Linked DNA regions of Homo sapiens: all the other regions are linked to region 7. The links are contacts of gene promoters, found by promoter capture Hi-C in blood cells and fetal thymus (Javierre and others, 2016). All regions are on one chromosome and are shown on one strand. The core of a region is centred on a gene start or on the middle of the fragment in contact, and the rest is flanking DNA. Distances in the headings are between cores, read along the strand shown. Region 1 has its middle 39 kb from the start of FSD1L. Region 2 overlaps SLC44A1 (solute carrier family 44 member 1). Region 3 has its middle 19 kb from the start of FSD1L. Region 4 overlaps SLC44A1 (solute carrier family 44 member 1). Region 5 overlaps SLC44A1 (solute carrier family 44 member 1). Region 6 overlaps SLC44A1 (solute carrier family 44 member 1). Region 7 holds the start of ABCA1 (ATP binding cassette subfamily A member 1).

Region 1 (2,758 bases), core at 63-2,562, 480 kb after region 7:
AACTCCACATAAAATAAACCTAAAGAGATCCACACTCAAACAGATTATAACCAAATTGTTGACAAAGAAACATAGAAAATATTGAGTGCAGCAAGAGGGAAGCAGCTCACTACATATAAGTGATCCTTAATAAGATTATTCCCTGATTTATCAGAATGAGGGATGATGTATAGTAACCCTGAAAGAAAAACAATTGTTAATCAAGAATCCTGTATTCAATAAAATTCTCCACCAAAACTGAAAGAAGGCCAGGCACAGTGGCTCACACCTGTAATCCCACTGTAATCTCAGCACTTTGGGAGGCTGAGGCAGGCGGATTACCTGAGGTCAGGAGTTCAAGACCAGCCTGGCCAACATGAGGAAGCCTTGTCTATACTAAAAATACAAAAATTAGCTGGGCGTGATGGCACATGTCTGTAATCCCAGCTACTTGGGAGGCTGAAGCAGGAGAATCACTTGAACCTGGGAGGTGGAGATTACAGTGAGCTGAGATCATGCCACTGCACTCCAGCCTGGACAACAGACCAAGACTCTGTCTCAAAAAATAAAAATAAGGCCAGGCACGATGGCTCACACCTGTAATCCCAGCACTTTGAGAGGCCGAGGCAGGTGGATCACCTGAGGTCAGGAGTTGGAGACCAGCCTGGCCAACATGGTGAAACCCTGTCTATACTAAAGATACAAAAATTAGCTGGCATAGTGGTAGGCGCCTGTAATCCCAGCTCAGGCAGGAGAATTGCTTGAACCTGGGAGGCGGAGGCTGCTGTGAGCCGAGATCTCGCCACTGCACTCCAGCCTGGGCGACAGACTGAGATTCCGTCTCAAAAAATAAAATAAAATAAAAACAAAAAACTGAAAGAAATCAAGACATTCTCATACAAACAAAAGTTGAGGAAGTTTGCTTCTAGTAGACCTGCCCTATGAGAAATGCTAAGGGAAATTATTCAGGAAGAAATGAAAGAACACAAGTAACTCTAGCTATACAAAAAAATAAAAAATAAAAACATCAGTAAGGAAACTACATAGGTAAACATAAAAGCTAGTATTATTGTATTTTTTGTTTGTCACTCATTTGTTGTTGTTGTTGTTGTTGTATTTGAGACGGAGTCTTGCTCTGTTGCTCAGGCTGAGTGTAGTGGCATGATCTCAGCTCACTGCAACCTCCACCTCCTGGGTTCAAGTGATTCTCCTGCCTCAGCCTCCTGAGTAGCTGGGACTACAGGTGCATGCCACCACATCTGGCTAATTTTTGTCTTTTTTAGTAGAGACAGAGTTTTACCATGTTGCCCAGGCTGGTCTCGAACTCCTGACCTCAGGTGATCCACCCACCTCGGCTTCCCAAAGTGCTGGGATTACAGGCGTGAGCCACCGCACCCGGCCTGTCACTCACTTTTTTTCTACATGATTTAAAAGGCAAATGCATAAAACAATAATTATAAATGTATCTGAATGAACACACAATGTATAAAGATATAATGTATGACAATAACAACATAAAGGGAGAAGGTGGAGCTACATAGGAACACAGTGTTTGTACATTATTTAAGCTAAATTGGTATTAATTCAAACTAAATTATTATAAATTTAGGATGTTAATTATAACCCCCAAGGTAACATTAACAAAATAACTAAAAATATACATTCATAAAAGGAAATGAGAATCAAAATAATACACTAGAAAAATCAATTAAACATAAGAGAAGACACAGATATGATATAAAGGAAATAAACAACAAAATGGCAGAAGCAAGGCCTTACTTACCAGTTTTTTAAAATGTAAATGGATTAAACTCTTCAGTTAAAAGGCAGAGTTAGTGGCATAGATTAAAAAACAGACTCCAACTATATAATATCTGCAAGAGACTCAATTTACGTCCAAAGACACAAATAGGATGAAAGTGAAAAGATGGAAAAAGATATTCCATGCAAATAGTCATCAAAAGAGAACTGGAGTAGCTATAGAAATATCAGACAAAACAGCCAGTAAGACAAAAATTGTTACTAGAGAGGACATTTTATAGTCATAAAAGGAACAATGCATCAATAACATATAGCAATTATAAACATATGTGGGCCAAGTGCAGTGGCTCACCCTTGTAATCCCAACACTTTGGGAGGCCAAAATGGGAGGGTCACTTGAGCCTAGGTGTTCGAGACCAGCCTCAGCAACAAAACAAGACCCTGTCTCTACAAAAAGTTTTAAAATTAGTCGGGTGTAGTGGCGTGTGCTGGTAGTTCTAGCTACTCAGGAGGCTAAGGTGGGAAGATCCCTTGAGCCCAGGAGGTCGAGGTTGCAGTGAGCTATGATCACGCCACTGCACTCCAGCCTTGGTGACAAAATAAAAAATAAGCATATGTGCATCTAATAAGAGAATCCACAGTACACGAAACAGAAACTAACAGAATTAAATGGAGAAATAGACAAATCAACAATAATAGTTGAGACTTCAATATTTCATTTTCAAAATGGATAGAATAACTAGACAGAAGATCAAGAAGAAAATAGAAGACTTGAAGAGCATCATACACCAACTAGACATAATAGACATCTGTAGAGCACTTTATTCAACACTATTCTTCTGAAGTGCACATGGATCATTCTCAAGGCTAAACCATGTTAGGCCACAAAACAAATCACAGTAAATTTTAAAAGATTTAAATCATATAAAGTATATTCTAGGTCAAAATAGAATGAAATTAGAAATAAATAACAAGGAAATTGACTCAAAATGTTATGAAAATAACAAGTAAATTACCT
Region 2 (3,015 bases), core at 125-2,624, 400 kb after region 7:
TCAAAATGTATGTGCTGCATCTCTTTCCTGATCCTTGCCCTGTTGGGAGTGAAAGTAGGTGGATACTGCGTGTTACCCTCTCAGCTGAAATACTCATCTGTAGTTTTCAGTTACAATAATCTGGTTTGTCAATACCATGCTTATTACGATTATTTGTTTCATTGTCTAAAAATAAAACTATCAGTTCATTTTGTTTAAAGTGAAAACTGAAAAACTAATGTAAGCATTTATTTACCTGGTTAAGGACATTTTCCAATCAAAAGGCAAGAAAGTGCAGTTTTAATAAATCATAAATTGGTTTGATACAAGCACTTGGCCTCCTATAAATATTCAGTTAAATATGAATTAGTTAAAGTATAATTACTTTTAAGCATGTTGCCATGGATTGGATGAACTTCAGAATGCTGGAAACAGAATATTCAAAGTTAATAGAGAACAGTTAAATTTACTAATGATATTTGTAGGAAATATTTTGGAATAGTGCAGAATGGAAACAGTGAAACTCAGAATCAGAGGTACTATGTTTGAATTCATGCTTTGGCACCTACTAGCTCTCTTGGGCCTGGTGGTTAGGCCTCAAGGCCTCAGTTTTAACATCTTTGGAATAGTTATGGCCCCTACCTCACAGAGTTGTTGCAAAGATCAAATAAGTTCTTGAATGTGACAGTGACTAACACCTACACACCCAACAAATGTTAATAGAATCTGAACCTAAGGTCAAGGTCTGTATGTTATTTTTAACTTCATGTGTGTGCATTTGAATATGTGAAAGGCATAGAGAATTAAGCTTAATATCTTTTCTTTTCCTTCTTTGTTTCTTTTTTTTTTTTTTTTTTTGAGACACAGTCTCGCTCTGTTGCCCAGGCTGGAGTGCGGTGGTGCGACCTCGGCTCACTGCAATCTCCGCCTCCTGGGTTCAAGCGATTCTCCTGCCTCAGCCTCCCAAGTAGCTGGAATTACAGGTGCCTGCCACCACACTCAGCTAATTTTTGTGTTTTTGGTAGAGATGGGGTTTCACCATGTTGTCCAGGCTTGTCTCCAACTCCTGACCTTAAGCGATCTGCCCACCTTGGCCTCCCAAAGTGCTGGGTTTACAGGCTTGAGCCACTGCACCTGGCCAGCTTAATATATTCTTAGACTATGGAAGGCAGGTAAGATACAGAGTGTAAACATGTGATGTATGTGAGTGTGTATTTCTTGAAGATGTGTATTTCTTATTCAAATAAGTTTTTAGATCTTTTCAAACCATATACACAGGCTGAAAAATGTGCAGTGTTAATTTCACAGTGTTGTAGTCATGGTAGCATTCTTCTCACCCTCCTGTTCTTGTTTTCTTTGTGCTGGATCTGTTTTGGGGGCCTACTTGGTTCTCAAGGGTAATGACCTTACCCTTAGTCATGAATACTCCTACACAGATTTTTTTTTCCTAAATGAAAACCGAATGTTAGTATTGTATCCCTGTTTTATGCCCATATAAGAAAGGGTTGAGTTTAGTTCCTTACTATGAAATGTAAGATGTATGGAAAGCAAATAGTATTCTTAATGGTAATGACACGAATCACTGAGTGCATACTATGTTAGGTGCTTTATATATATTATTGATCACATTACAACAAACTATAAAATCGGTGATATGTAATTTTTCAGATAAGGAAACTGAGGCTCAGAAGGATAAATATATTTTCCAAGGTCAGAGAACTATTAAGAGAGAACCAGAAAGCAAGTTCACATTGGTCTGACTAAAGCAAGGGATAAGGTTGCTGCCCAGTCACTAGCATAAATCAAAGGAATATGTTTTAAGGTATAAAAGAAGTTAGAAATATAATAGGGATACTTTTGCCCTTGGAGGAGGCTGAAGCCTACAGGACAGACAGTGTATCTATTCTCAAGAGGTTGTCATTGATCCAGCCTAGGCCCAGCAGCAAGGCCCTGGCAGCTTCTGGCTTTTTTTTCCTTTTCCCTAAGCTTCTTTTTCTACTGTGATGTGATTTCCCCAGATGGTTCTCAAGGCATTGCTCATCACTTAGAACTGTGTACTCAATGCCTCTCTCCCATCCCAGTTCCACTGCCCACCTCCCACCCCATAGAGAAACACACAACAGAATTACTGTGAGAGTTAAATGAGTTAATACATGTAAAGTGTTTAATACGGTGTCTGATAAATAGTAAGTACTCAATAAAATTGGCTATCATTTTTAAAAGTCTTTATCATTAAGTATTATTAGGCCAGGCACAGTGGCTTATCATACCTGTAATCCCAGCACTTTGGGAGGCCAAGGCGGGTGGATCACCTGAGGTCAGGAGTTCAAGACCAGCCTGGCCAACATGGTGAAACCCCGTTTCTACTAAAAATACAAAAATTAGCCGGGTGTGGTAGTAGGTGCCTGTAATTCCAGCTACTCAGGAGGCTGAGGCAGGAGAATCGTTTGAACCTCAAAGGCTGAGGTTGCAGTCAGCTGAGACCATGCCATTGCACTCCAGCCTGTGCAACAGGGCAGAACTCCATCTCAAAAAAAAAAAAAGAAGTATTCTTAGTAGTGATGGTGGTGGTGATGGCAATGGTAGCAGTGATAGTGGTGGTGGTGGTGGTAGCAGTAGTGGTTGATTCAAAGGTTTTGTGACACATTTCTCAAGGACCTGATTGTTCCCTGTCCAGAATCTGTCTTTGTGCAATTCATTATACAGGGTCAAAGGCATAGACATGCTTAGTCAGACGCCCAGGATAGAAGAAGGGAGAATTAGTAAGAGAATGCTTGTTTCTACTCAGAAGTTGCCAGAAACAATTCTCTGTATGCCCTGCTTCCTTGTTATCAGCCATGGAAACAGTCCACAAAACCTACTTCTAAACCTCATCTTTCTGCCTGGCTTTTTTTCTTTCCTTCTATCTGCATAGATAGAACATTAATGGGTTTGGAGTCACTGATAGGGTCACACACACATTTTTTTTTTTTTTTCGTTTGGTAAGTTATACCTGACCTTCATGCCGGGTTCCCAGTCCCCTTGCTGCGCTGAAGT
Region 3 (2,700 bases), core at 162-2,661, 500 kb after region 7:
AATAACGGCAAAAGATGACAGCCCTTTGTTATTTTAATTTGTATTTTTTAGTAATTTATTAGTCCTTTATGTTTCCTCTTCCGTAAATTCTGTATTCATGTCCTTTGCCATTTTGTTATTGAGATGTCACCATTTTTCCTACTGTTGAATAAAAGATTTTTATGTATTAGGGATACTAGTACTTTTTCGGTCATATTAGTAGCAAATCTTTTTCCTTCTTTGTAGTTTGTCTTTTAATTTTGCTGGTGATAATTTTACCTATAATCTATACGATGTAAATTTTTGATAATTTCCTTAAGCCCCCAAATCAGTAAATTTATTGATAATTCCCTTACGCCCCCAAATCAGTTAAATAGTTACCTATATTTTCTATTTTTAAAAAATTATTTTCTTTTATAAATTAAGATACAATTTATATTCTATTTTTAATGGTTTCCTTTCACTTTTTATACTTATTAATAGCTAGAAATAATTTTGTGATATAATATGGAGTCAGGCCCATTTGTTATGCAATTTATTCCTTCCCCCATCAACTTGTGTGGATATTTTGTCACATGGAGTAGATCTATGATATTCTAAGAAGTATAGTTGTTCAGAGTTTAGACTCTGTGATCAACCACATCTGGGTTCAGATCCTAGCTCTGCCATCTTTTTGGTCCTGGGCAAGTTACTTAGCCCATCTAATTCTCAGTTTCCCCATCTGTAAAAGACTGATTGTTGGGAGGATTCCATTATCCTGAGTATGCAGAACAGTCAGCATGGGCTGTGCTACCTAGGAAACATTTAGTACAGTATGCATTCACTACTAGAATTATGACTATGATATCGATGAAGTTATTCATAACTTTTTTTTTTGAGATGGAGTCTCGTTCCCATTGCGCAGGCTGGAGGGCAGTGGCGCAATCTCGGCGCCCTACAGCCTCCGCCTCCTGGGTTTAAGCGATTCTCCTGCCTCACCCTCTGGAGTTGTAGTAGCTGGGACTACAGGCACGCGCCACCACGCCCAGCTAATTTTTGTATTTTTAGTAGAGTCAGGGTTTCACCATGTTGGCCAGGATGGTCTCGATCTCCTGACCTCGTGATCCGCCTGCCTTAGCCTCCCAGAGTGCTGGGATTACAGGCATGAGCCACCACACCCGGCCGGTTATTCATAACTTTAATAAATTCGGATATTCTTGAATGGTGCAGGAATACTCACTTCAAACTTTTAATGAGTTACTGGGCATATGGTCAAAAAATAAAACAAAGCTGCATTCACATCTCCACAGTGGCTGTTTCCTTGTCTCACTCACAGGTAAGTGATACGCTTCCACATCCACAGGGCACACAATTCGTATCTTGCCTTAAAAGGAAGAACTGAAAGGATATAAAACCAGATTATCTCAAAGGTTAGAGTGATTTAGGAGTAGGGCTTTTCTGTATTACTTTAATCTTTTTGGTTTGTTTTCGTTTTTGTTTTGAGACGAGGTCTGGCTCTGTCATCCAGGCTGGAGTGCAGTGGCACGATCACAGCTCACCGCAACCTCCGCCTTCTTGGCTCAAGCCATCCTCCCACCTCAGCCTCCCGAGTAGCTGGGACTACAAGTATGTGCCACCGTGCCTGGCTAATTTTTGAATTTTCTGTAGAGACAAGGTTTTGCCATGTTGTGCAGGCTGCTCTCAAACTCCTGGGCTCAAGCTATCCTCCTGCGTTGACCTCTCAAAGTGCTGAGATTATAGGCATGCACCACAACACCTGGCCCTTCTGTATTACCTTAATTTTTGACAGTAATTATGCCTACTGAGGGGAAAACAATAAAGATGTACCCTTGGAAAAAGTGCTTACCTCAATGAAGTTACAGATTAATCATCATCCAAGATTTAGAATTTATTGCAAATAGTAAAAACATTAACACTTAAATCTTCAAATACGGAGAAGCCTTTTAGGAACCATTTCAAGGTATGCAGAAATTTGGTGTGATCTCAATTTTATTTAAATCTTCTTTCATATTTCTTTATGCATGTGTATACCTTAATTATAGGTTGTAAAATTACAAGTATATATATATATTTTGAGACAGGGTCTCATTTTGTTGCTCAGGCTGGAGTGCAGTGGCATGATTACAGCTCACCACAGCTTTGACCCTTCCAGGCTCCTCCTGCCTCAGTGATCCTCCTGCCTCAGCCCCCTGAGTAGCTGGGACTACAGGCATGTGCCGCCAATGCCCGGCGAATTTTTAAATTTTTTGTAGAGACATGGTCCCTCTATGTCTCCAGCTCCTTGGCTCAAGCAATCCTCTTCCCTTGGCTTCCCCGTGCCTGAATTACAGGCATGAGCCACCACGCCTGGCCTAATTATAGTTCTTATGATGTGGAGCTCAATCATCTATTACTAAATTATTTCATAGTTATTTTCTTTCTCTTTTTTAAAAAATTAAGATATCATTAACATATCATAACACTGACCATTTTAAAGTGTTTACTTCATGGTTTTTGGCAAATGCACAAAGCTGTGCAACTAAGACCACCACGTGACTCTAGAACATTTCATTGGCCCAAAGAGAAACTCCATGCCTTTTAGCATTCAGTGCCTATTCCCCTCACCCAGCCCCTGGAAACCACTATTCTACTTTATTTTGCTGTGGATTTGCCTATTTTGGATTCACGTGAAAGAAATTATACAATATGTAGAATTATTTTTGTCAGCTTTTCACTTAGCAT
Region 4 (3,060 bases), core at 346-2,845, 460 kb after region 7:
GCTCTGAATTTTAAGTTTGCATCACCTAGACATGATTGCTTGGGCAGATGGAGGCACACCAGTAATCTTCCCATCAGGTTCCATGCCTGCCCTCCACACCTTTCTGTATCCCTCTTATTTCACAAAAGCTGAGGAGGGCAGCAGTGGAGATTCTGCCAACCCTATGGCAACATGGAGAAATGAGGAAGGCTTCCTTCCTTCTACTGCTTGGAGGTCCTAATTGTTCAGCAAATCGATTCTAAGCCCAAAACTTAACAAGACATATGAAATCTTAAAATATAAACCAAGCTTTTCCCCCTTTTCTGTCTTTCTAGTGATTGAAGCTTTCATTACATCATTCAGTAATAAGCATTTAAAGAAAGGGAGAAATATTTCGAGGTTGAAGACTAGGTAATGTGGCCATGAGTTGGCACAGATTTCTATAGTATTCTTTAATGAATGGTAGATGAATTGTAGTAGATCAGAATGCAAGTATACTTTCCTTACCTAAACTCCTAATTTATAGGTAATAATCCTGGGAGAATTGCCCAGGTTATGTGGCATTCTACCAGATGCCAAATATTTTAGAAAGAGTTGTTTCCTATTAGTATTTTCAGTTTTGAAATAGTGTCCCTTACTTCAAACAATGCATTAAAATCTTTATTTAATTTTTGCTTTCATTTTATGCTGTTCATCAGTTCATTGCTTGCAGATTAATGGCAAAAACCCTCTGCTGCATCCCAAAATACATCTTCTATGTGCATTGTTCTGGTGCTTTGGACATTGTAGCATTGGGTCCCTAAGAATGATGTTTTAAATGGTTAAAAAGTTCCCAGAAGACAAGTGTGAAATGCTGCTCACAGAGTAGTTTTATTTTTTCAGCACCTTAGTACCTTCTTTATTTCTCTTCCATAGTATGCATGATTAGAGTTGGCCCCTACTAACACCATTCCTTTGCATGTGTTTCTAAAAAAGTATTTCAGAAATTTCTACTGAAAGTTTGGGGATTGATAGAATTTAGGATTGCTTATTTGTATTTGCTTGATATAATTCACATATTGTTGCTGTAGATGAAAGTTCTATAAAAGAGCATCATGCCTATTTTGCATTAGCTCTAGAAACATTGCTGCTGTTTGAATTCACTATCTTCCTCCCTCCTCAATGAGATATTTTAATTTAGGCTTCATTTTTAGCCTATAAAATAATGTTCAGTAAAATGAGGTTTTATATTTTCCTTTTGACAGCAGATCATTGAACTAAACATGAGAACTTCCGGTTTTGTTCTTGAACTTTTCCCTGAGAGAGGCTCGCTAGTTAAGGAAACTTTAAAGATTTATGAATTTTTTTATGATTCTCTGAAAGTGATTTTGGAAAAATGTACCAAAAGTGATGAAGAGGTTTAGGAAAGAGATTTTCTGACTGTCTGCTTGCTATCATATAGGAAAGAACTTAAAGAGAAAAGGGAGGAAAAATCCTAGACACTGTAGGAACATGGGCCAGAGAAGTATGCTCTGTGTATCTCAGAGATGATCCTGGATAAAGTGTGACTTTCAACATTCATAAGAATTTCAGCTCCAGGAATTCAGGGGAGAAGGATTCTCAGTCCATTTTGCTGTCTTGCTGTTTGTGACCATGTGTATATTTGTAACATCATTCATGATCTCCTTTTAATGGTAATTGTCTAAGATTATACTCTGTATGACTTTGTTTTCTAGGCTTCGGGAGCAAGTTCTGCTTGAACCTAGCCGACGGTTATGGAAACCCATTGACATTCCAAAACAATATATACACATAACTATGTATTTGTGTGTGTGGGTGTGTGTATATATGTATATGTATGTGTGTATATATGTATATGTATATACACACACACACATAAATCAGCCAAAATCAGAGAAAAGGAACAGGGATTTAATACCTTTTTTATGCTTATTTTTGTCAAACATGTACTCCTTTCATACGGGTGGCTTTTACAAGGCAACTTCCGTCATTTAATGTTTTCAACTGTAATTGTCTTAATGGAAATGTTAAAATTCATATCTGATTAACATTTTTAATAACTTAGAGGAGATTTTAACTTTATTTAAAAATAGGTAAAATTATTGTACCTAATTATGTCTAAAGTTTATTCAGGGGTAATTTCCCTGATGTCTGTATAAAATCAAGATCTTATTTTACTGATGCATAAGTCCTAGTGGGTCAAGACTAGGCATATGCTTTCAGATAAATAAGGAATTACTCCAATCAGTTTTCCCCAATCAAAGAAGCCATGTCATTTTACTTTTAGAAACATACAATTGGGCCCAATATGGGAATTTTCATAATAGTTCATACATTTGTCAGCCAACATTAAAAGGTAACCAACTCCTCAGGTATTTGTAGTTTACCCTAACGCTTCTTTAAAAGAAAGTAGGTAAAAAAAGAAAAGGGTAGATAATCTTTCGTATGCAAACTTTTCCCTTATATTTTGTCTTTCTTTCCTTTTTGACTTTAGTAGCATCCTCCACACATTTGTGTGCCTGATTTGAAAGGAAGCTGGGGCACCCAGCGAGTTTAGCCTTTAAGTTTCTGTGTATTGATTTGCAGATTAAGTAATGCTGGGAGGAATAAAGAAGGGACAGAAACATGGAACATAAAGCATTGAAAATTCCGGTGCTTGGGCTTCGGCTTCAGAGTAACGTCAGTGGCTTAGGGTTAAACGGCCATTTTATTCAAATGCTTGCTATACAATCTGAAAACACACTGGCAGGTGCTCCTCTCCTTGGCAATTCATTGAGTATCCAGAGTTCTACGATGTTTAACTGAAGAATTGGCTAATGTTTTGATCCTCCAGTGTGACTGTTGTTTTTGTTTGGGGGTGGGTTTGGGGTTTTTTGCTTTTTTATTCCTGAAGCTTACCAGATATGAATGGCTAATACTCCATTGTTCTGCTTGTTGTAATGGTGAATGCTTTAAGAAAAAAAAGTGTAATTTGCTAAGAATAATTCATGATCTGTTTATGCGATAACTCCTTTTTGTTACAATTTTTTTAAAAAAAGCTATTTTTGTTAATGTAAAGTAAATATTTCAGAGCAAATTTTT
Region 5 (2,918 bases), core at 358-2,857, 420 kb after region 7:
ATAATAAAGTATTTGACCAAATTAGTAATCTGGTACGAACCTCAGTTAATCAAATATAAACAGTTTATGTGATGAAATGCAGCAAAATTAGAACTGGAGCCTGGGTCTCCTCACTTAACAATATATTATACAATGAACCTTCCAGTATTCTAGTTGCTGTATTTTAAAATTAACGGATCAGGAAAATAAGATGTATATTGGATTTAGTGGACTTTATCCATCTCAATTATCTATACTAAGGAAATCAATGTATATACCAGCTTTATAGAGTTATAGTAAATTATATAACACATAAATGTATTATGTAAATTTTACATTGTGTACATTTTACATATATTAGATATGTGTTGGCCATATAATCAGAAAAATTAATTTTTTTTTGCATAGCCAATCTAAAGTTGAATTTAAGCTGTCTTAAACTCTGAAAACTAGGAATCACTTTTATCAATTTATCAGTTTTATCAATTTTTTCAGTTTATTTACAGTTAGGAATGTTTCCTGCTTTTTAAATAAGTAATGTATTATCTGAATTTACATGTGTTATATGCATTAATTGTAAGCATTTAGTAATTGAAAGCATAGGAAAAACAGGCATAATGTGTAGCTGAGCACAGGCTTTGTAGTGAAAGAGATGTGGTGTTTAATCCCAGTTCTACTCCTACTAGCTCTGTGTTCTTAGGCAAGTTATTTACCTTATCTCTTAGCCTCTATTTCCTTCTCTTTAAAGTAGGCTTAATAATACCTGCCTTACAGAATTATAGTAAATTGTATAATGCATAAATGTCATCTTGCAGAGAACCTGACACTCAATAAAGGTAGTTCTAGTACTTATTGTTATTACCTTTAATATTAATTAAAATTTGTACATGAATTACATTAATAGTAATTTTAGAGAAGAATCAGTTTTAAATGATTGAGGACTTATAATATGGATCAAATCAGATTTTTATGAATTCTATAATGTTTGGAAAGTTGCATATGTTGAATAATACAAAATTAAAATGAATAGTAAGAGAATTTTTTCAGACTGTTCTGCCACCTAACATAATTTTTCTTTCAACAGGTTCAGCCCTATGTAGCTACAACCTAAAGCCTTCTGAATACACTACATCTCCAAAATCTTCTGTTCTCTGCCCCAAACTACCAGTTCCAGCGAGGTAAATTTTATTGCAAAGTTGTTAACTTGTGACTGTTGTTTTTGTAGGTAAATTTTAAACAATATATGTTATTCTGAGAAAATAGTCATTTGATACCTGTTGGCCAGGTCCAATACTTTTATTAAAAAAATTTTAAAGTAGCAATAGAAATGACATTATATATTTAATATTTAAAAACAACACATAGGCAACCAACTTTTCTTGTTCTGACATATTTTAAATTTCATTTCTTTTAGGGGCTTGCTTTTTTTGTTTTTATTTTCATGCCATAATTTTTAAGTGCACAAAACCACTGAACTGCTGTAAAATCTGCAACAAACTTAGAAACCAAGTCTCACAATCTCCAAAGAGTTTTTTTGATTTATCCTAGTAATATTTACTGGGATTGTTTTAAATTTATTTTGTAAATTTAGAAAGTCTGCCAGTGATTATTCCCCATAGTTTCTTTCAGGTTATATTTTTTAGGTAACATTCTCTGTATTAGGTTGTTTGCTATATCTTATCCAAGGTCTTCTTCAACAAACATTTATTATTAAGTACCTACTGTGCATGATGGATACAAAGATGAAACAAGAAATGTTCTTTGGAAGGATCTCAAAGTAGTGATAAGTAAAGCAACATTTAAAATTATAAATAGATTTTTTGAAAGGAAATGAATTATCAAGCATTGTAAAATATATGCTCAGAATTAGGTAGGTATACGTATCTGTATATGTGTGTATGTATATTTGTGCACACACACACCCCCACATACTTTGGAGTGTTGGTCAGATCACAACCTTAGTGTATATTGCCAACTGTGTGTAACATGAGTCAACTTCTCCAGGAAAATGTACTTGAGGCCACTTTAATTGTATCTCAATATATTATAGGAAGCTGTTGTATAAAAAATTTTGAGACTCATGTCTACTTTCTTTTGGATTACTTATGGGTGTAACTTGGGTTTTATTAACTTGAATTTGAATTTTTCTGTTGAAAGTAGAAAAAAGATATATCAGTTAAATATATTTTCAGCTCATTAATCTTGTCAAGTTGCTATTGAAAAATCAAAATTTAAAGCCTGTAGACATAAAACTAAAGGGACTATTTTAAAAGATAGTAAGAGAGACTTACAAATTATGGCCTTAAACCAACAGCTACGGAGATTACATTCATATAAATTGAGAATATTAGGGAGGCTGTGGGAGTAAAGAAAAGGGGATCCTTTGAATAGTCTTAGGAGAAAATTTATCCATATAAAAATTAGAAAAGCTCTATACCCTTATCTATCCAACTGGTAAAGTCTGTTTTAAATATATTCTTTGAATATAGAATCATGCTCTCAAGATTAAAACATATTATGACAGTATAGCCAGAAAGCCTGGGTGTGAGAGGGAGGTCTCTGCTCCTGTGTAATAGGGGCAGGATGTCAGGTGGGGGCAGCTCAGCTCATCCTGCACATCCTTCCCCGCCTCTGACCTCTGATGCCACTATGTTGAGGACTGCCTGTTCCTGGTTATTTTGGGTTTTCCAGTTTTTGGTACACACATGCATCTCACAATGTCCTAGGGGTATTCACTGGAAGACAAAGAATAGTATTAGGGGAGAAGATTTTAGAGATGGACAGAAATGGCTTCTAACAAGGTCATCATCTGATATCTCACTAATCTAAAATGCAGTGCTGAACCTATACCATCTGAAAACTGACGGCATGCTGTGTTTATGCTGTGTTTAAAGATCCTTATGTTTTACTTATTTTAGTGCATCACAGTCTAAGTATGT
Region 6 (2,963 bases), core at 148-2,647, 440 kb after region 7:
GTGCCTGTAGTCCCAGCTACTCCGGAGGCCGAGGCAGGAGAATCGCTTGAACCTGGGAGGTGGAGGTTGTAGTGAGCCGAGATTGAGCCATTGCATTCCAGCCTGGGCAACAGAGTGAGACTCTTTCAAGAAAAAAGAAAGAAAGCCTGTTGAAATTAAGATTTGCAACACACTTGTAATTTTTATGACCTTGAAAAAGTCTAAGAATTTAGAACAAAATTAGATAAAGCCTACAGTATGGGTTTGACTTTGTGCCCTGTCTTAATCTGTTCAGGCTTCTATAACAAAATACCATACACTAGGTGGCTTCTAAACAACAGAAATTTATTTTTCATAGTTATGTAGTTGATGAGAACTATTCCAATAGTTCTAGAGGCTGGGAAATCCAAGAACAAGGCACCAGCAAATTCAGTGGTTTGTGCGGGCCTGTTTCCTGGTTCAGAGATGGTGCTTTCTTGCTGTGACTTCACATGGTGGAAGAGACAAAACAGCTCTTTGGGGTATTTTTTTAAATAAGGGCACTAATCCATTCATGAGAGTAGAGCCCTCATGACCTAATCACCTCCTGAAGACCCTACCTACTAATACCATTACCTTGCTGACTATGTTTCAACATACCAACTTTGAGAAGACACAAACATTCAGACCATAGCATTCCCCTTCTCTCCTTTGCCTCAAATAAGAAAGGAATAATTGTAATTACCCTTTCATTTCTTTAATTTATACGAATCCACACAGAACTGCACATACCCTATATTCCCTTAGCATTATTGTGTAGCTTGCCCCTATTAAGTGAGTCATTATGTGAATATTTTAAACTTTAAGAGAATTTCTGGGTCCTTCACTAGAGAAAGGAAAGAAGATGTGAAAATGAAGAAGTTGTATTCTGGGACAGATGGCCACACAGGCCTGTTCCATGCATGGTGACCCTCTGCCCTAACATATTTTCTTTCACATGATCAGTACTTTTTAACTATATCCCATCACACAAAAGTACAACCAGGGATTGCGTAGGCTAACAGGCATCCTTTAAAAAGATTCCTGGATGGTGGTCATCCTTCACCTTGCTCCTGGGGGTTGAATATTCTCAAGCTTGTGTCCTGCCCAAGCAAATGTTGAGCGTGGGCTAAATGTTAATCAGTGATGTCTGTCTGTGGGCAGTTTAACTCCAGATAAGGAAGGCTGTCTGAGAAGGTGGGTGGACTCTAAAAATCTCAACCAAGAAGTCTGAAGAAAGCTCAGAGAATAGTTATCAGGGAAAGCCACAAAGGACTCCGAAATTCTTAAGAACTTAAGCAAGAATTATTTTAGACTAGGAAGTATAGAAAAGGAGGGAATTTTCATTTGCCTGCTGTGATCTGCAGCACATTTTTCTTCCTGAAGAGGTCATCTTGACCTTTGTGTATCCAGTTCATCTTCCTACCTTGGGAGTGAGTGAAAGAGCTTGCAAAATATCCACCTACTTTTTTTCAGTTGGGTTGAATACAAAGGAATTGCATAGATCCATAGAAATATTGCCTTTTAAAAGGCTAAATTTCTGGACATTCGACCCTCACAGAAATTTCTCAGAGGGGTGGAGAAAAGAAATTATTGCTGCTTATCTACCAACAAATAGACTTCTGCCCTAAAAGCAGATGGAATGGGGCAGGGTGGGGTGATAAGAAAGAAGCAAAAGAGGAATAATAATAATTCTCAAATGAAATGAAGCTTCTAAAAACTAATGAGGGAAACAAAAAAAGCTTTTATAGTTTAGTTTGGAAGTGTTGGGCATTCTCCTCGTGTAAGCTGGTCTGATGATAACAGAGGAGAGAGAATGGAGACGTGTGGGTCCTTTCTTGCTTCCGTCTCAAGGAAATTCATGGTAAACTGGAAAGGGCAGAACACTTTAGTTAAGAGTGAGTTGTTCCCATTGAGGGCGGGAGTGAACATAAGCTAGTACCTAGTTGATTTAAATGGGTTGTCCAATTTCCTTGATTCTAGACATTATGAAGCTATTTAGTATCAGGATGTATCTCATAATCAATATGTGTATTTAATATGGTAGGATATTTTCTCCCAAAAACTTGTTATGAATAACTGGCTCATTAGTCTCTTGATTATATCTTAGAATGTGGGAAATAAGGTATTTCTCTTCAAAGGAGTTATATCCCAGATCACTGAAGACCTTTGTCAATTAAATTGTTGAACTGAAGAATTACAGTGAAAGATGCTGAAAGATTGGAAGTTGTGGAGGAAGTTACTAAAACTTGAAATGAGCAAATGTGGTTTGTATTTCCAGTAAGAGGGTGGGTTCCACATACAGTAGATGAGTGAGTAGATGAGGTTGATATTAATCCTTGGCAGTACTCTAGAACAGGAGGTCAGCAAGCTTTCTCTGTGAGGGACCAGAGAGTAAATATTTTTGGCTTTGTGGGCCATACAGGATCTTTCACGACGGCACAGTTCCATCACCGTAGCATGAAAGCAGCCATAGACAATATGTAAACAATGAGCACAGTTATGTGCCAGTAAAACTTTATTTACAAAAGTAATTGGCAGGCCAGGTGCGGTGGCTCACGCCTGTAATCCCAGCACTTTGGGAGGCCAAGGAGGCCTTGTGGATCACAAGGCCAGGAGATCGAGACCATCCTAGCTAACACGGTGAAACCCCGTCTCTACTAAAAATACAAAAAATTAGCCGGGTGCCTGTAGTCCCAGCTACTCGGGAGGCTGAGGCAGGAGAATGGTGTGAACCCGGGAGGCAGAGCTTGCAGTGAGCTGAGATCGTGCCTCTGCACTTCAGCCTGGGCGACAGAGTGAGACTCCATCTCACAAAAAAAAAAAAAAAAAAAAAGTAATTGGCAGGCCAGATATGGCCTGCAGGTGGTAGGTTGACCACCCCTGCTATAGAATAAATTGTTAACTGGGTGTTTTGTGAGTACTTAGGGAACTGGTGTGAACTGGGAACCAATCTGTGTTCTTTC
Region 7 (2,907 bases), core at 382-2,881:
CTGCAACCACCGGTCTTCACCGGATTCACAGTCGGAACCGCGAGCAAAGACACCTAGTAGAGCCGGCCGATTCCTAGGTCCTCCGGCCAGGAGGCGCTGCGGGCCAGTCTCCGGGGGCCACCGCAGCCCGCGCGCCCAGCACCCCCACCCTCACGGCAGAGCCCAGCCCAGCCCCGCGGCGGAGCTCCGAGTTCTGCGCCGCCCGCCGGGGTTACTCCCGGTCATTCCACGGCACCACCTCGGCCCAGCTTCCCCATCTGCGCCCAGGCAGAAGCTGCCCCGAGAGACCAGCAGCAACGGTCTGGAAGATGGGGCTGCAGGGAACGTGGGAGAGGGAGGATTGGGCACCCCACCTCCGGGTCTCCGCAGGCTCTCCTAAGTCTTGTTTTTAAAAGAAACAAAACTCGGCCGCGCGCGGTGGCTCACGCCTATAATCCCAGCACTTGGGGAGGCCGAGGCCGGTGGATCACCTGAGGTCGAGGGTTCGAGACCAGCCTGGCCAACAAGTTGAAACCCCGTCTCTACTAAAAATACAAAAATTAGCTGGATGTGGTGACGCGCCTGTAATCCCAGCTACTCAGGAGGCTGAGGCAGGAGAATCGCTTGAACCCGGGAGGCGGAGGTTGCAGTGAGCGGAGATCGTTCCATTGCACTCCAGCCTGGGCGACAGACCGAGACTTAAAGGAAAGAAAAAAAAGAAAAAGAAAAGGAAACAAAACTCGTCCGCGCTCTGCGCCAGGGACACCAGCTCAGCTGAGCGCACGGAGACTGTAGGCAGGACCTCCCTACCCCTCAGGTCAAACAAAGACCCAAGGCCTCTAGTGAGCAATAGCACCACGGACCGTTTGGGACACCTCCAACTCGAGTTCCCGGATTCACAGTCCGGGACTGTGCCGCTCCAGTCCCGGGGAGCATATAGCCAATTCCCAGGTCAGAACAGACCAGCTTCTTAAGAACCGAGTGAAGACTCAGTGCTGGCATTTGTCTCCGTAGGTACTGGCCGACCTGCAACCAGAAGGGTTTCTAGCCAGCTCAGGGCCCTCCGAACAAAGCAGCGCTCGGTGCCGGACCTGCAGCTCTCCCCACCCGGCAGCAGCGCCCTCAGCACGCCCGGGAACCCCCGACCCCTCTGAGCCCGGGGTACTGCGCCCGGGTCTCCACGCCCAGAGATGCTCCCCGGTCTCCACCGTCGGGCAAGCCCCAAGCGCAGCAGCGCAGAGTCCTGGGGTCACCAGAGCTCGTACTAGGACATCGTCTCCCCATTTAACACCGCCTCCGGTCCCATCTGAGTTGCAAGTGGTGGGGATGTGGGGCTCCGGATCAAAGTCCCCGAAACCGAGCACTTCCCGAAGCCTCCTTGGCCTCGAAACAAAACAATAACGCCCAAGTAAGTCACTGGAGAGCCTCTTACCTGTTTTCCACTTTTGTGTTTGCGTCTCTTTCTCCTACCCCTTGACAAGCCTTCCGGAGAAGGGGAGAAAACAGAACCGGGGAAAAAACAAGGAGCAAAGCGCCCTGAGAACCGGCTCTGTTGGTGCGCGGAGCTCCCCGCCCTGCCCTGCCGCAGCCCGGGAGAGAAGGGTCGGCTCGGCTCTGCGGGTCCCGGCCCCACTCACTCTCGCTCGCAATTACGGGGTTTTTGCCGGGACTAGTTCCTTTTATAGATTCGGCTGCACCGAGCGCAGAGGTTACTATCGGTCAAAGCCTGTGCTCTCCCTCCTCCCCGCCCCGTTCCCGGCCTCTGTTTATGTAGTTCAGTCACTCAGCAGAAAGCACGTGGAGCCGGGGCCCGCCCCTTAAACGGGCGACGTTCAGCCGCCCACGACACATCTAGGGAGTTGGGGGGAGGTGGGTGGGGTGGGGGTGGAGGGTACAGCAGGTGTCTTAGGGTCCGCGGTCTGCGTCCCCTTCCCCCGCCCGGGCCCGCCGGCCTAAGACGCGCGGGAAGCGCTGGGCTCGGGGCTGCGCCGCAGACTCTCTAGTCCACGTTCCCGGCAGCCAAGGGCACCAGTGGAATTTGCTTCCTCTAAATCCTGCTTTCCGCAATTTTTTTTTCCTTTGTTAGTTTCCTCAGCCGGAGGGAGGGATTGGGGGAGAGAGAGCTCTAGGCTGAATCTCCCTCAGGACGCCAATCATTTTGTCTTGTCTTTTGTTTCCTTTCAAAGGCCTAGGCTGGGGTGAGGGGAAGGCGGACAGTCCTCTGGGTAATGGGCTGCTTTTGTTTTCCCCCCACAAACCTGGACTTTGATTTTTGATAGGCGACCTACTGCCTTGGAGATTCCCAGCCTGAGCTCCCCAGGTCCCTCAGAGGACCCGAGAGGAACATCTTACTGCTTCTCTTCATAAATTGAGAGGAAGGAGGCCACAAAAACAAAAAAAGAAACAAACAAACAAAAACACAGAACAATATGGACCAGCCCCCTTTTAATTTCATTATATTGATCAGCCTCCCTGTGATAAAAACACAGGACTTGTATTTAGTTTGTATACATTTGTGAAGTGCAGCCAGAGAATTGCAGTCGTGTAAAATTATGTAGCCACTCCAGACCTCCAACTTATCTGTTTGCCTTTGGCTGTAGGGGAGCAAAACTACCCAAAACACTGGAGGGGCAAAAAAAAAGGCAAGAGTAGGAATGCAGGCCTACACACCATATGTCTAAATATTTAAGTCATCCATCAAGCCAACAAACTAAATGTCACCTTATTCTGGCCAAAACTCAGGTCAAACTGTGAAGAGTCTAAATATGAATCTGCCCTGAAGGGCAGATTCATAGAAGACTCAGGACAGACCCGTAGAAGAGGCCCAAGCAGGCCCTGGAAGTGCACGTGGAGGCCACAAGGTCTCCTACCTTGACAAAGATACCTTTGTAGCCACCTTGAAGGGCAGATTCACATTTAGACTCTTCA

The links. Contacts are between HindIII fragments. The CHiCAGO score rates a contact against its expected background, and 5 or more counts as called.
Region 1: a contact is called between a fragment that was not itself captured here and the fragment with the promoter of ABCA1 in region 7, in 17 of 17 cell types (total CD4 T cells, naive CD4 T cells, naive CD8 T cells and 14 more). The highest score is 17.4, in total CD4 T cells.
Region 2: a fragment that was not itself captured here is called in contact with the fragment with the promoter of ABCA1 in region 7 in 2 of 17 cell types (M2 macrophages and monocytes); the score reaches 5.2 in M2 macrophages.
Region 3: a contact is called between a fragment that was not itself captured here and the fragment with the promoter of ABCA1 in region 7, in 14 of 17 cell types (total CD8 T cells, non-activated CD4 T cells, activated CD4 T cells and 11 more). The highest score is 8.3, in total CD8 T cells.
Region 4: a fragment that was not itself captured here is called in contact with the fragment with the promoter of ABCA1 in region 7 in 11 of 17 cell types (monocytes, total B cells, total CD4 T cells and 8 more); the score reaches 9.2 in monocytes.
Region 5: a fragment that was not itself captured here is called in contact with the fragment with the promoter of ABCA1 in region 7 in 2 of 17 cell types (neutrophils and naive CD8 T cells); the score reaches 5.9 in neutrophils.
Region 6: a fragment that was not itself captured here is called in contact with the fragment with the promoter of ABCA1 in region 7 in 14 of 17 cell types (M2 macrophages, M0 macrophages, fetal thymus and 11 more); the score reaches 8.9 in M2 macrophages.

What each region holds. Positions count from the first base shown.
Region 1 is chr9:105,407,331-105,410,088 of GRCh38, forward strand. It overlaps a transcript of SLC44A1 not described here. Among named protein-coding and RNA genes, the nearest start is that of FSD1L, 39 kb to the right of the region's middle. The HindIII fragment of the contact is 5,811 bases long and covers 1-2,758 here.
Region 2 is chr9:105,331,301-105,334,315 of GRCh38, forward strand. The region is part of intron 3 of SLC44A1 (solute carrier family 44 member 1); the gene reads left to right. Among named protein-coding and RNA genes, the nearest start is that of SLC44A1, 88 kb to the left of the region's middle. The HindIII fragment of the contact is 1,178 bases long and covers 786-1,963 here.
Region 3 is chr9:105,427,862-105,430,561 of GRCh38, forward strand. It overlaps a transcript of SLC44A1 not described here. Among named protein-coding and RNA genes, the nearest start is that of FSD1L, 19 kb to the right of the region's middle. The HindIII fragment of the contact is 6,517 bases long and covers 1-2,700 here.
Region 4 is chr9:105,387,339-105,390,398 of GRCh38, forward strand. SLC44A1 (solute carrier family 44 member 1) reads left to right here. Exons shown (of 16, transcript NM_080546.5): 16 at 1,695-3,060. The coding sequence ends at 1,718. Among named protein-coding and RNA genes, the nearest start is that of FSD1L, 59 kb to the right of the region's middle. The HindIII fragment of the contact is 2,549 bases long and covers 322-2,870 here.
Region 5 is chr9:105,347,295-105,350,212 of GRCh38, forward strand. SLC44A1 (solute carrier family 44 member 1) reads left to right here. Exons shown (of 16, transcript NM_080546.5): 5 at 1,064-1,157. Among named protein-coding and RNA genes, the nearest start is that of FSD1L, 99 kb to the right of the region's middle. The HindIII fragment of the contact is 4,132 bases long and covers 1-2,918 here.
Region 6 is chr9:105,368,909-105,371,871 of GRCh38, forward strand. The region is part of intron 12 of SLC44A1 (solute carrier family 44 member 1); the gene reads left to right. Among named protein-coding and RNA genes, the nearest start is that of FSD1L, 78 kb to the right of the region's middle. The HindIII fragment of the contact is 615 bases long and covers 1,091-1,705 here.
Region 7 is chr9:104,926,524-104,929,430 of GRCh38, forward strand. It overlaps ABCA1 (ATP binding cassette subfamily A member 1), which reads right to left and starts at 1,632. Exons shown (of 50, transcript NM_005502.4): 1 at 1,412-1,632. It overlaps LOC105376196 (a long non-coding RNA gene), which reads left to right and starts at 266. Exons shown (of 3, transcript NR_188620.1): 1 at 266-1,387. RefSeq lists silencers at 26-265, 1,602-1,791 and enhancers at 942-1,001, 1,322-1,401. The HindIII fragment of the contact is 9,744 bases long and covers 1-2,907 here.